2 separate regions of the Homo sapiens genome follow, and region 2 is linked to region 1. Evidence: promoter capture Hi-C in 16 types of primary human blood cells and fetal thymus (Javierre and others, 2016). All regions are on one chromosome and are shown on one strand. Each heading gives the region's core, a stretch centred on a gene start or on the middle of the fragment in contact. The rest is flanking DNA. Distances are from core to core; before and after follow the strand shown. Region 1 holds the start of LAMTOR5 (late endosomal/lysosomal adaptor, MAPK and MTOR activator 5). Region 2 holds the start of LRIF1 (ligand dependent nuclear receptor interacting factor 1).

The links. Contacts are between HindIII fragments. The CHiCAGO score rates a contact against its expected background, and 5 or more counts as called.
Region 2: the fragment with the promoter of LRIF1 here is called in contact with the fragment with the promoter of LAMTOR5 in region 1 in 1 of 17 cell types (total CD8 T cells); the score reaches 5.7 in total CD8 T cells.

The regions. Positions count from the first base shown.
Region 1 is chr1:110,405,711-110,412,424 of GRCh38, reverse strand. LAMTOR5 (late endosomal/lysosomal adaptor, MAPK and MTOR activator 5) reads left to right here and starts at 4,731. Exons shown (of 4, transcript NM_001382293.1): 1 at 4,731-4,839; 2 at 6,046-6,107. The coding sequence starts at 4,805. LAMTOR5-AS1 (LAMTOR5 and SLC16A4 antisense RNA 1) reads right to left here and starts at 4,616. Exons shown (of 3, transcript NR_102697.1): 1 at 4,471-4,616; 2 at 132-252. RefSeq lists an enhancer at 4,560-4,789. The HindIII fragment of the contact is 8,453 bases long and covers 2,830-6,714 here.
Region 2 is chr1:110,960,921-110,967,459 of GRCh38, reverse strand. LRIF1 (ligand dependent nuclear receptor interacting factor 1) reads left to right here and starts at 3,538. Exons shown (of 4, transcript NM_018372.4): 1 at 3,538-3,839. The coding sequence starts at 3,772. RefSeq lists enhancers at 3,670-3,879, 3,414-3,950. The HindIII fragment of the contact is 2,635 bases long and covers 2,964-5,598 here.

The sequences.
Region 1 (6,714 bases), core at 3,482-5,981:
ATCAGGACATGTGGGCTTGGGTATTCTCTGCTGGACCCTCCTGGCATTTTAATTTTCCAAGAGCTCATTTATGAAAGAGGGAAGAAAGAAGAGGAGAAGGTGGTTAAAGTTCAGGACCTAAATTTCTTTACCTTAGAGTAAAGGTAACCATAGAGTTCCTTTCCCAAAAGACATCAAGACTCTTCAATAAATATTTGTTGAATTTTTGTCATGCTCTGTTGCACTAGGGATGCAGAGATGAAGACACTCTTCCTGTCAATGAAAAGTAAACGTAAGGGCTGGGTGCTGTAGCTTATGCCTGTAATCCCAGCATTTCGTGAGGCCAAGGAGAGCAAATTGCAGGAGTTCGAGACCAGCCTGGCAACATGGCAAAACCCCATCTCTACAAAAAATACAAAAAATTTAGCTACACATGGTAGTGTACACCTGTAGTCCCAGCTACTCAGGAGGATGAATCACGAGCTCAGGAGGCAGAGGTTGCAGTGAGCCAAGATTGTGCCACTGCACTCCAGCCTGGGTGATAGAGTAAAACCCTGCCTCAAAAAGAAAAGAAAAAAAAAAGAATAAGAATTAAAAAGAGAAAAGAATGAACTTTTTCAAAAGTAAACATAAAAAATTACAATATAATGAAACAAATGCTCTAATACGGATGTCATGGAACTTTTCCTGTCACCCCAGAAATGGTTGCCAGCACTCAAAACTAAGAACAAAGAATTGTTAAATACCCCACAAGCTAAAGAAAGTAGAAAACAAGGGTCAGATACTTTCCCCAACCATCACTCCAGCCCCTAGCACTTGCCCAATTTATATATACTATTCCTCTCCCATTGCCTACTTGCACAGGGGCAAGACAGCAGCAGGGCAGAGAAAGCGGGGGTGGTAAGGAGTAGCCTGCTCTCTCACCTCCCATGTGGCAAGGACATGTGAGCCAGCTATCATCCTCTTCCTACTTGATTTCCCTTCAAAGGCCTTCCTTATAGCTTAAAAAGCAATCGCCAGTCTTTCGGAGAATCCTTTTTTTTTTTTGAGACAGGGTCTCATTCTGTCACCCAGGCTGGAGTGCAGTTGTGCAATCTCAGCTCACTGCAGCCTCAACCTCCCGGGCTCAAGTGATCCTCCCACCTCACACAAAGTACTTGAGACCACAGGTGCGCATCACCATGCCCAGCTAATTTTTGTGCTTTGGTAGAGACAGGGTCTCCCCACGTTGGCTAGGCTGGTCTCAAACTCCTGGGCTCAAGCCATCCGCCCACCTAGGCCTCCCAAAGTGCGGGGATTACAGGCGTAAACCACCATACCAGGCCTGAAAACTACCATGCCTGGCCTGAGAATCCTTTAATCACTGATCTAGCTTTGAGATAATTTGAGATATCCTTGGGCTACACTGGCCAATACTGTGGCCACTAGCCACAGGTGGCTGCTGAGCACTTGAAATGCGGCTGGTCTGAATTGAAATGTGCTGCTAACTGAAAAATATACCCTGGATTTTGAAGACAGTACTGGAGAAAAAATATAAAATATCTCATTAGTATTTTATCAATCACAAGTTGAAATAATATTTTGAATATATTGTTTGAATAAATAAAATGTTATTAAAATTAGTTTCATCTGTTTTACTTTTTTTTGAGACAGTCTCACACTGTAGCACAGCCTGGAGTGCTGTGGCTCAATCTCGGCTCACTGCAACCTCCAGCTCCCGAGTTCAAACGATCCTCCTGCCTCAGCCTCCTGAGTAGCTGGGACTACAGGCACGCACCATCACACCCAGCTAATTTTTGTATTTTTAGTAGAGATGGGGTTTCGCCATGTTGGCCAGGCTGGTCTCAAACTCCTGACCTCAACTGATCCACCCATCTCGGCCTCCCAAAGTGCTAGGATTACAGGCGTGAGCCACTGCACCCTGCCCTGTTTTACTTTTTTTTTTTTTTTTTTTTTTTTTTTGAGACAGAGTCTCGCTCTGTCGCCCAGGCTGGAGTGCAGTGGCGCGATCTCGGCTCACTGCAAGCTCCGCCTCCCAGGCTCACACCATTCTCCTGCCTCAGCCTCCTGAGTAGCTGGGACCACAGGCGCCCACCACCACACCCGGAGAATTTTTTGTATTTTTAGTGGAGACAGGGTTTCACCGTGTTAGCCAGGATGGTCTCAATCTCCTGACCTCGTGATCCACCCGCCTCGGCCTCCCAAAGTGCTGGGATTACAGGCGTGAGCCACCGCGCCCGGCTGTTTTACTTTTTTTAATGTGGCCACTAGACTATATTGCCCAGGCTGGACTTGAACTCCTGGGCTCAAGGGATCCTCCTGCCTCAGCCTCCTGAGTAGCTGGGATTATAGGCACGTGCCATTTCACCAGGCAGTACTTATGTTTTCTAATGCTAAGTTTTAAACTGCTTTTTCTAAAACTTATATGGCCTGTACTGTGTTACCCCTAACTTAACATGAATAATTTCTCTAGAGCAGGAGTCCAAGACCCCTGAATTATAACATTCAAACTGGAATTTTGGCTGGGTGCAATGGCTCATGCCTATAATCCCAGCACTTTGGGAGGCTGAGGTGGGCGGATCGCTTGAGGTCAGGAGTTTGAGACCAGCCTGGCCAACATGGTGAAACCCCATCTCTACTAAAAGCACAAAAATTAGCCACGTGTGGTGGTGCATGCCTGTAATCCCAGCTACTCGGGAGGCTGAGGCAGAAGAATCGCTTGAACCAGGAGGCAGAGGTTGCAGTGAGCTGAGACGGCGCCACTGCACTCCAGCCTGGGCGATAGAGCAAGACTCTGTCTCAAAAAAATAAAGAAATAAACAAACTGGAATTTCAAGGAAGCTGCAAGCTTCACTATGACAGCTGCGGAATAAAAAGGGACTCTGAATGCCAGTGCAGTGTATTGGACTTTGGTTCAATACCAAAGTCTGGTATCTTCCGATCTGGGAGCTGGGCCCCAGATTGGAAGGTAGGCTGTGAGTAAAAAGCTGGAGGTGACAGAGTTGGAAGAAACTTAGTGCAAGGAATGATCCACAGAGGGGGTGAGGCTTACCAATTTGAGTAAATTAGCACCACTTTTTCGGGAGGCAATTTGTAAGTATGTATCAAGAGTCTTAAAAAATGATCATGTCCTTTAACCCAGTCATTCCATTTCTAGTAACTTATAAGGAAATTTTAAAACTGCACAGATATTTAGCTATGAGGATATTCAACCAGCATTGTAATAGCTAAAACAAAAAACAAACAAAAGCAAAAAAAAAAAAAAAAGTCCAAGTACAGTGGCTCACCTGCAATCTCAGCGCTTTGGGAAGCCAACGAGGGAGGGTCACTTGAGACTGGGCTACACACTGAGACTCCATCTCTACAATTTTTTTTTTAATTAGCTAGGTGGGGTGGCGGGTCCCTGTAGTCCCAGCTTCTTGGGAGGCTGAGGTGGGAAGATCGCTTGAACCTAGAAGGCTGAGGCTGGACTAAGCCATGATAGTGCCACTGCACTCCAACCTTAATCCACAATTAAGATACAGCTATAAAATGGAATATTTTGCAACTACTACAAAGGATGTAAGTGAAAACTTGACATGGAAAGACATTTATTCTAAACTCTGTAAAGAAGGCCAGCTACAGAATTGTACCTCCAGTATGTATGTCAATTTTGCTTACAAAACAAACAAAACAAAAAAAACCATGCTAGGCGTGGTGACTCAGCCTGTAATCACATTTTGGGAGGCTGGAGTGGGAGGATCTGTTGAAGCAAGGAGTTTAAGACCAGCCTGGACAACACAGCGAGACCCCCATCTCTACAAAAAAACGTAAAAATTAGCCAGACATGATGGCTCGAGGCTGTGGTCCTAGCCAGTCGAGAGGCTGAGAGGTGAGGATAGCTTGAACCCAGGACGTCCGGGTTGCAATGAGCTATAATCGTTCTACTGCACTACAGCCTGGGTAACAGAGCAAGACCCTGTCCCCCAAAAAATTTATTTTAAAAAGGCAAACGAAAAAACATTAAAAGTATACATTTACAAAGACAACTATCTGAAAGGATATTCTCCAAGAAGTTAAAAGTCGTCTTTGGACAGTGGGGCCATAGATGTTTTCCTATTTTTACCAGCTTTATAATTAATTTTTAAAAGTTATTTTCAAGTAGTCCTACCCAGTCTTCCTTACGAGTTAGGACTCAAATGCCACTCTCTTCCCCTAAACTGTCCTGAGTCCCCTCACCATAATAAGCACCAATGTCTTCGTTAAAATCCCGACACTGCCAACACTCAGCTAGGGGGTTGAACCTTGCTCCATCTCGTCCTTTAGTCTCTGTGTGCGTCTTTCCCCCTACAAGCCTACTGACCCCCTCCAAGAGGTCCCGTGTCTTCCCCGTACTTGCCCCACAGGCTAGATCAGACCCTGTCTGACCCCTGGGTTATTGTAAAACTTAAGATCTGTCCCCTAGGTCTCGGAGTCGGTTGAACTAGGGTCCAAAGGTTAAAAAACACTGACACAAAATGCCAGGCCACGAACTGAAGCACTGAGGCCCGGCTGCAGACCTCTCCCGAGAGGGGAATAATCCGTGCCGGCCGGTTCCGCCATGGAGCCAGGTGCAGGTCACCTCGACGGTCACCGCGCGGGGAGCCCAAGCCTTCGTCAGGCTCTGTGCGACGGAAGCGCAGTGATGTTTTCCAGTAAAGAACGCGGACGTTGCACCGTGATCAATTTTGTCCCTTTGGAGGCGCCGTTACGGTCCACGCCCCGCTCGCGTCAAGTGACTGAGGCCTGTGGTGGAGAAGGACGTGCCGTGCCGCTGGGTTCTGAGCCGGAGTGGTCGGTGGGTGGGATGGAGGCGACCTTGGAGCAGCACTTGGAAGACACGTGAGTAGTGCGCGCCTCTTCGGCCTGTCCTGAGGTCGCGGCGGAGGAACTTGAGCGGAACGAAAGGCGCGAGCTGCGAGTACCGGCCAGGGCGTCTCGGGGACGTCGCGCGACCCCCGGGACACGGGATGAGGGGGCTAAACTCTACCCAAGGCCGCAGGGCGGGGCGGGTGACCCGGAATTAAAATCCTGCCGGGCACCGCACATTCCCTCTTGAGCGAGTCTCCCGGGCCCAGGCCACGGGCCAAAACTGCCTATCTCGTTGTTGAAATCGTCTTTACGGTCAGGGTGGTTCTGCGGAAGTTTTAGAAAACGGGTTGACTTTTGGGAAGATTGTGCCAGTTGTGCAGTGTCGAGCCCTGCAGTGTAAACAAACACGTATCTCCTGTGTGTAACCTATCAGTTACTTGGTGCTTAAGTAGATAAAAATCATTCTTTAAATTTTTCGAACAAGCAGTATCTATGTAAAATTCAAAACTGGAAAAGTGTAAAGGGTACAGAGAGACACCTGCCTCCCACCGATGTCCCTCAGCTTCCACTTACCCTCCAGGAGGTAACTTGAGTTTTTCAACAGTTGTTTTAAATGAGTTAGTACTAAAACATGCGTTTTTAACAAGAGTGAAAACATCCTAGATGTTTTTCACGCAGTGTTTGTGGCCCTCCAGAACTCAGCAGTACTTAGCACATTTTTTTCTCTCATCAGAGAGAAACTGGTTTATTTCAATTAATTAACTAGAACTTAAATTTTTTGTGTTCTTTTTTTGAGACGGAATTTCGCTCGTCTTCCAGGCTGGAGTGCAATGGCGTGATCTCGGCTCACTGCAACCTCCGCCTCCCAGGTTCAAGCGATTCTCTTGCCTCAGCCTCCCGAGTAGCTGGGATTACAGTCATGCGCCACCACGCCTGGCTAATTTTGTATTTTTAGTAGAGACGGGGTTTCTCCATGTTGGTCAGGCTGGTCTTGAACTCCCGACCTCAGGTGATCCGCCCACCTGGGCCTCCCAAAGTGCTGGGATTACAGGCGTGAGCAACCGCGCCCGGCCCTAGAACTTAATTTTTTTCTTAGGGTGTGACAATGAAAAAAGATTGAGAAATATTGATTTAAAGCACTTAATGCCTGGTACATAGAACACCTGTATGTTTGTACTTATTTAAATCCTTTTTCTCCCATTATGTACTTCAACTCTCTTGTGTTCCTGGAATTAGAATGAAGAATCCCTCCATTGTTGGAGTCCTGTGCACAGATTCACAAGGACTTAATCTGGGTTGTAAGTATCTCTCATACCAACTATTTGATGAATTGCATAGCATCTGATGTTGACTTGGAGCCTAGCGTGCTATTATTTTCTAGCTTTTATTTCCTGTTACCTTGCCAGGTCTTTCTGAGTTTGAGAGTAGAGATTATCTCCAAATAACAGTATCAGAAAATTGAAACTTTTCAGTTGGTATTTATGAAGGAAGATGTTCCTTGCAGTCCTATAACAATAAATAGTTGTCTCTACTAAAAATAATATTTGAATCATTTTAAATTGAGTCTAGAAAGGACTTCAGATAATAACAGCTGTTAACCATTTATTGAATGTATGCCATATGCTGAGACTGCTAGGCTCTAAATACATTATCTTTAATTTTCACAACAACCCGGCAAGGTGGGTGGTGTACAATTTTGAAGCTCAACTACACTAAACAAGAAGTGAATAGGCAGTAAAATGGGATTTCAGTGTTGGACATACCTGGTCTCAATCCCTTGCTCTTTCATTTGTTAGTAGTGTGAACGTGGACCAAAAAACTACCTTTTAGGCCCTCATTTTCTTCACTGGGTTGTTATTTGATAATGGTAATAATCATAGAATTATATTTATTGAGCTGTTATGT
Region 2 (6,539 bases), core at 2,289-4,788, 560 kb before region 1:
TGGGGCAAAAAAGGACAGCTCAAGATTTCATCATGCTACCCAGAATGGCACACAATTTCATACTTGTGAATTGGTAATTTCTGCAATTTTCCATGTAATATTTTTGAACCATGGTTGACCATGGGTAACTGAAACTACAGAAGGTAAAACTGAATAAGCAGGGTCTACTGTAGTTTTCTATTACTTTAATTTTCCATGTAACTTGATTGTACATTTAACATTTTTGATCTGTTTTTGTAATGCTAATTTAGTAACAGTCATTTCATTTCTAAATATGTCTTTAAACTAGTCTTTATTAACTGAATTGCAAGGTGATGCGTGCCTGTAGTCCCAGCTACTCAGGAGGCTGAGGCAGGAGAATCACTTGAACCTGAAAGGCGGAGGTTGCAGTGAACCAAGATCGTGCCACTGCACTCCAGCCTGGGCAACAGAGCGAGACTCTGTCTCAACAACAACAACAACAAAAAGATATTTAAGCCTCAGTCTGCATTTCCCAATGAATTTAGAAGAAAAGTGTATGTCCTAAGGAATTCAAAGAAGCACTGCTGATCATACCAATTAGCTTCCACTCCAAAAGGCAATTTCCATGGTAAGAGTTATATTTAAATTGTAGTGCAAGACCACACTGATAAAAGTCAAGTTACCTATTTATAATATACCAGCCAGGGTGGTTTTGCGGAAAGGATGGAGTAGTGACTTCCCAACACTGGCAGGTAATCCTGCATCTGTTTTCATCAGTGCCTTACCTTAGCATGGGTTTTTCCTGCCTTGACTTTATCCTGTCCATACCAGGGGCTTGGCTATTGCTACAGGTTTATTTTCAAAGGACAATTAATGATCATATCTGTTACAAGAGAAAAATTCAAATAGTTGCCTCCACCCTCTGCTTCTCGTGGTGGCCCTTGGCTTTAGCCTGTAACACTCTATACACTCACATACCAGTTCTGAAAATGTCCTACAGATCGAAATTTTCACAGCTGCTTTTTGTGTGTGTGTGTGTGTGTGTGTGTGTGTGTGTGTGTGTGTGGTGGTTGTTGCTGTTAATTCCTAAAAATCTAAACTTCCTTTTTTTTTTTTTATTTCTCCAGGTGTCAGCCGTCTGTACTAGTTCAACATCTTGATTAGAATCAAGGATTTTGGCTGGGCACAGTAGCTCATGCCTGTAATCCCAGCACGTTTGGAGGCCAAGGCAGACAGATCATTTGCGGTCAGGAGTTAGACACCAGCCTAGCCAACATGGTGAAACCCTGTCTCTATTAAAAATACAAAAAATGAGCCAGGCGTGGTAGTGCGCACCTGTAATCCCAGCTACTCGGGAGACTGAGGCACGAGAATCGCTTGAATCCAGGAGATGGAGATTGCAGTGAGCTGAAATCACGCCACTGTACTCCAGTCTGGGGTGACAGAGTGAGACCCTGTCTAAAAAAGAAAAAGAAAAAAAGAAAAGAAAAAAGAAAAAGAAAAAAAGGAAAAGAATCAAGGATTTTGATCCTTATCATAAGAGCAATGGGGAAACTGATTTTTTTTTTTAATGCAGTGAGATGACACCATCAGATTTGTGTTTCCATATGGTATCTCTGGCTGCAGCATTTACAGGAATACAAGAGTGGATATGAGGCTCACGCCTGTAATCCCATCACTTTGGGAGGCTGAGGCGGGGAGATCAGGAGGTCAGGAGATCGAGTCCATCCTGGCTAACACAGTGAAACCCCATCTCTAATTAAAATACAAAAAATTAGCTGGGTGTGGTGGCGGGCGCCTGTAGTCCCAGCTACTCAGGAGGCTGAGGCAGGAGAATGGCGTGAACCCAGGAGGCGGAGCTTGCAGTGAGCTGAGATTGCCCACTGCACTCCAGCCTGGGTGACAGAGTGAGACTCCCTCTAAAAAAATAAATAAATAAAAAAGGAGTGGATATGAGGGTATCCGTTAAAGCTTTACTAGACCAAGTAAGCTTGCTCTACAGTAGTAGTAATAGAAATATAAAGCAGACTTGTAAGATATTTAGAAGATAAAATCTGCAAAAGTTGGTGAATTGTATATTTTGGAATAAAAAAAGGAAAGTGTTAAGGATGACACTGGGATTTAGGCAACTTTAATGGAAGGAAGTTATTTCTTTCTTTCTTTCTGAGATAGCACTGATAAAAGAAAACGTGTAGTGGGGGGAAGAGAAGCAAGTCATAAGTGTGGTTTTGAACATGTTTCATTTGAAGGGGCTTTTAAAATAGCAAAAAGGATATCTCAACAATTCACTTGAACATCCAGGTATAGATCTCAGAGAAATCAGAACTGGGAACATAAATTTATGAGTCACACGGCAGCATAATGCAGTAGTACATGGTGTGTTTAGCCAGACAACCTGGATTTGGAGCCTGGCTCCATCACTCACAAGCTCTATGACCTCTAAAAATTTGTTCACCCTCTCTGAGCATCAGTTACTTCATCTGCATATAATAATTATTTTATTAGCTGTTAGGAGTAAATTAATTTTGTAAAACACTTAAATCAGTGCCAAGGACATACATGTGTTTGGTGGTAAAATAATGGGTGGAGGTGGTAATTCAATCCAGGAGCATGAATAAAACCACGAATCGAGACAAGACAGTTTGAAAACATAAGAGAATCAGTGATCAAGCTGAAAGGAACTCCCTTGAAAAGGGAGATATCTTCAAAAGAGATTGAGAAGGTGTAGACAAAAAGGTAGGAGCAAAACCAGGAAAGTATATTGCCAATGGCGTCAAGATGAGGGACTAATTAATAGTGCTGCGAGGAAAAATTCTCAAATAGTGTGAGATAAAGAGCATCAACTGCAATGGACAGCTGAATAAATGATTTAATGAATACAATGGATGTTCTGATGCAACTCCCAGATCTCCCTTCAGAAATAAAGGTCTATATGACAATAAGTGATAGTTTCGATGAACGTAGGCTGGAGGAAAGAGTTAAGTAAGTCTAGAGGCAAAGCTTCAGGAAAGAGGAGTAAATGGGAAACCTTCAGAGAAGCAGCAACAATAATCGCTGGCCACAGGCAGGCGTTTTAAGTTTTCTCAGGCCAGAAGTGCATGACTCCAAAAAAGCGCGCCGATGTCTTTTAATGCACTGACGGGAGAGAAAAACGTACGCTAGCGGCGAGCACAGAAGCAGAAAATTTATGATTGACCCCGGAAACATTTTATTTTGCGTAGGTGTCGGGAGAGCTTTCTTTTGCGATTTGTTCCTTGATCCGGAAGAAAAGATAGCAAATATCACTTGCCATTGGATTGCATCATAAGGGTTGGGCTTTAGCGAGCCAGTCACCTTGGCAACCGGACGTGACGACCCCGGAAGACGCCCGACCGAGCTTTGCTCCAGCTATCGGCTTCAGTGGGCGGGGCGGCAGAGCCAGACTGACGCAGTCTTCAGCACTGACCAGGCTCTGTTGGGGGTGGTGCCACCAAGGCCACGCCCCCTGCGCCTGCTCCGGCGGAGTCTGGAGAGTTGTCGTAGGCTCTGAGGGCGGAGACTCACGCCGATTCTCTCTCAGCGTAGGGCTGTGAGGGCGCAGTCCACCGCCAGGAGCCTTCCGGTTTCTGCGCGGTGCGCGACCTCGTCCCGAAGCCTGGGGATACACCCTCTCGAGAGCCCGCTGTCGCCCTCCGTTAAGGTCGAACCCCTCACAGTTGCTGTGGGCAACTCCAGCCCAACATTCCCTCGCTCTGGTTCTCGCCCCATTGGGAAACTCGGCCCCACGCTTCCCACTTTTCTGGATGAGGTGTCCCCTTTCTCCCCACTAAAATGTCAAATAACCTACGGAGGGTCTTCCTGAAACCCGCAGAGGAAAATTCAGGCAACGCCTCGCGTTGGTAAGTACCGGTTTCGAATCCTCCCCACGGCTGCCCCTCTGTCCGTCTTAGGGATGTGGAGTCGGCCGTCGTTTCCGGACGCTGTGTAGTTGAGAGGAGTTGGAGCCCGCAGAGTGCGCCACCCAGGCGGGAAGCGCTTGTCTCCGCGGCGCTTAAAGCCCATAGAGCGCTTTCCTCTGGGAAATGTAAAACCTCTTTAGAGCCTGACACAGCGGCTCCGCGGGACCCCAGCGTCTCAAGTTTAATAGGCGGACCGAGTAGATCTCCACGGGAGATGAAAACCAAGATGGCCGACGCTCTTATGTGACTCAAACCTTCTGGAAGATTCTCACGCACACGCAGAAACGCAGCAGTCAGCACGGATTAGCAAGTGCAGCCCTGGTGGCGCTGGACCTTCAGTGAAAATAGATTTTAATAGTGAGACAGAAAGGGTGTGTGATTGAAGAAAAAGGGCTTTAGAATGAGGAGATCGAATATTTAAAATTTCAAGTAATAGTTTTATGTGAAGAGAGAGAAGTAAGACTGGAGAAATCCTCGTGTAAAGTCAGTCCTTTTGAACAGCCTTTTTGAAGTAGGGTGTAATGAAGTGCCATTTCATTGGCTATTTATATTTGGCATGAGGAGAGTCCAGTATTTCTAAGGAAGATATTCTTGTAAAGTTAGAAAATAGATGATCAGTAACTTAGTTTTTGGGTTTTTTTTTTTAAATTGTATTACAAGGAAATGAATTGGAAACAATGTTAGCTAAAGCAGAATATTTTCACTTGTACTCTCACATGGTTAGTAGATTAAGTGATGAGGAAAAAATAGGGTCTGCAGACTCTAATAAGAAAATGAAGAACTAAGATGCAAAACTCATGGAAGAGGATTTTCGTTTGAAGAAAATCAAGCTACCTGGGGTTAATCTCAACTTTGCTAGTTAGCATTTGTGAGGCCAGGTACCTGTTTCCAGTCTGTAAATAATAGCACTTAGAAATATTTTAAAGATTAGGAGAATGAAATAATGTAAAATACGTCGTGTAGGAAAATAGTAAAGCACAATTTAAATGTTAACTATTACTATTATAAGCATACAACTTTAATTCTGTACAGATTTTAGCCCAGCAGGTAGTTTTCTTTAATTGCAAGTAGAAAACTCCATTGCAATAAAGACCGTAAGTAATGGTGAGTCCTTAAAAGCAATATTATAAAAGGAAATGGTCACTAATAGTAATGAGCCAAAATTCTGTTGAACTGTCAAGATAGAACCATTGTATTTCAAATCATAAAAAGAGCCATTTTTTGGTGTACTTGTGTGTTTTTTTCTTTTTTCTTTTTTTTAATTTTGTGGTGGAAGTTTGGGGGAAGGGGCAGAGAGTGCCCTGTGTACATATGAGAAAGTAGAATTACTTTTTAAATGATTAATTTCTGCAGCCTTATTTTAGTACCTGAATACTTACTGACTTCTGACTTAGCTTAATTTATAGAAAATTTGTTTTAGGATTGCATTTTTAAATACAAAAAGTAAGATAAACAACTTTACTTTGTGTGTGTGTGTGTGTGTGTGTGTGTGTGTGTGTACCCTTAACTCTGTTATCCAGTTTCTAATCCTTTTGGGGATTTGGAGATTTTTAAATTACAAATTACATTCATAAGTCATTTTGAGTTCATTAACTCATTGATTTATGCATTGTTTTTATTATTTTTGAATGTATTTATTTAAATCATTGAGGTTTTACATCATATATTTGGGACATTTACCAGATGACTTTCTGAAGCTTCGACATTTACTTTGGTTAATGGTTGCGTATTTGATTCCATTCTGTTCTGTAAGTAATAAAACATCCAAATATAATTTTGTAAATAATATTAACGGCCCTTGTAGTTTATTGGAAACTTAGTTTTCTTATTTTTCTGGTAACATGTTTGATGGTACTAAATCATTTATTTTTATAACTTAAATGACTATGATTTTCTTATTGTTTGTAGCTTAAATATTTCCTGTTACTGCTTATTTAAAATTTTTCAGTAGCATAATACAGAATTGTATATTGTTGTATATTGTTTGAAGTATCTCTTAATTCATCAGAACATCACATGTAAAACCCAAATTTAATCTTAGAGTACAAAGGAAAAATCTGGAAGATATTTGTGATGGTATGCATTTAATTTATATTGATTTGGGTTTTATTGTCGAAGAATAAAGCAGGAGTCAGAACGCTATAGTGGAAAGAACCTTTTAAGTCATAGAGACTTGGGTTCATATCCTAGCTTACCACTTACTATCAATACAGTTTAAACATTTGATGAAAAAACATTCATTTAGTGCCTACTATCTATGTGATAGACTGTGCTAAATGGGAAGACTGATTAATAATAGGATATGGGCTGTTGCCAGGGAAAACCTTACAGTCATGGTGGAGGAGGAGGAAAGTAGAGTTGATGTAGTAAAGGAAGAGAGTAGAGAAAGGGAGTTGGAAGAAAGATTCCAAGAACAGCTGAGTTGGGAAACATAAGTATCAGCTATCCAGTTAAAGATAAAAGCAGGATATGCTTATGCAGAGAACTGGTAAATAAAGGACGTGTATGGTTTATGATTGATACTTGTTGCTTGATTCTGTACAAGTAGGATAGATAGATAGCTCTTAAGGGTTCTGTTTGCCCTGCTAAGGAGATTAGACTTCATCTATTGGAAATAGGTCAGAGTATTTTAAGAAAAAG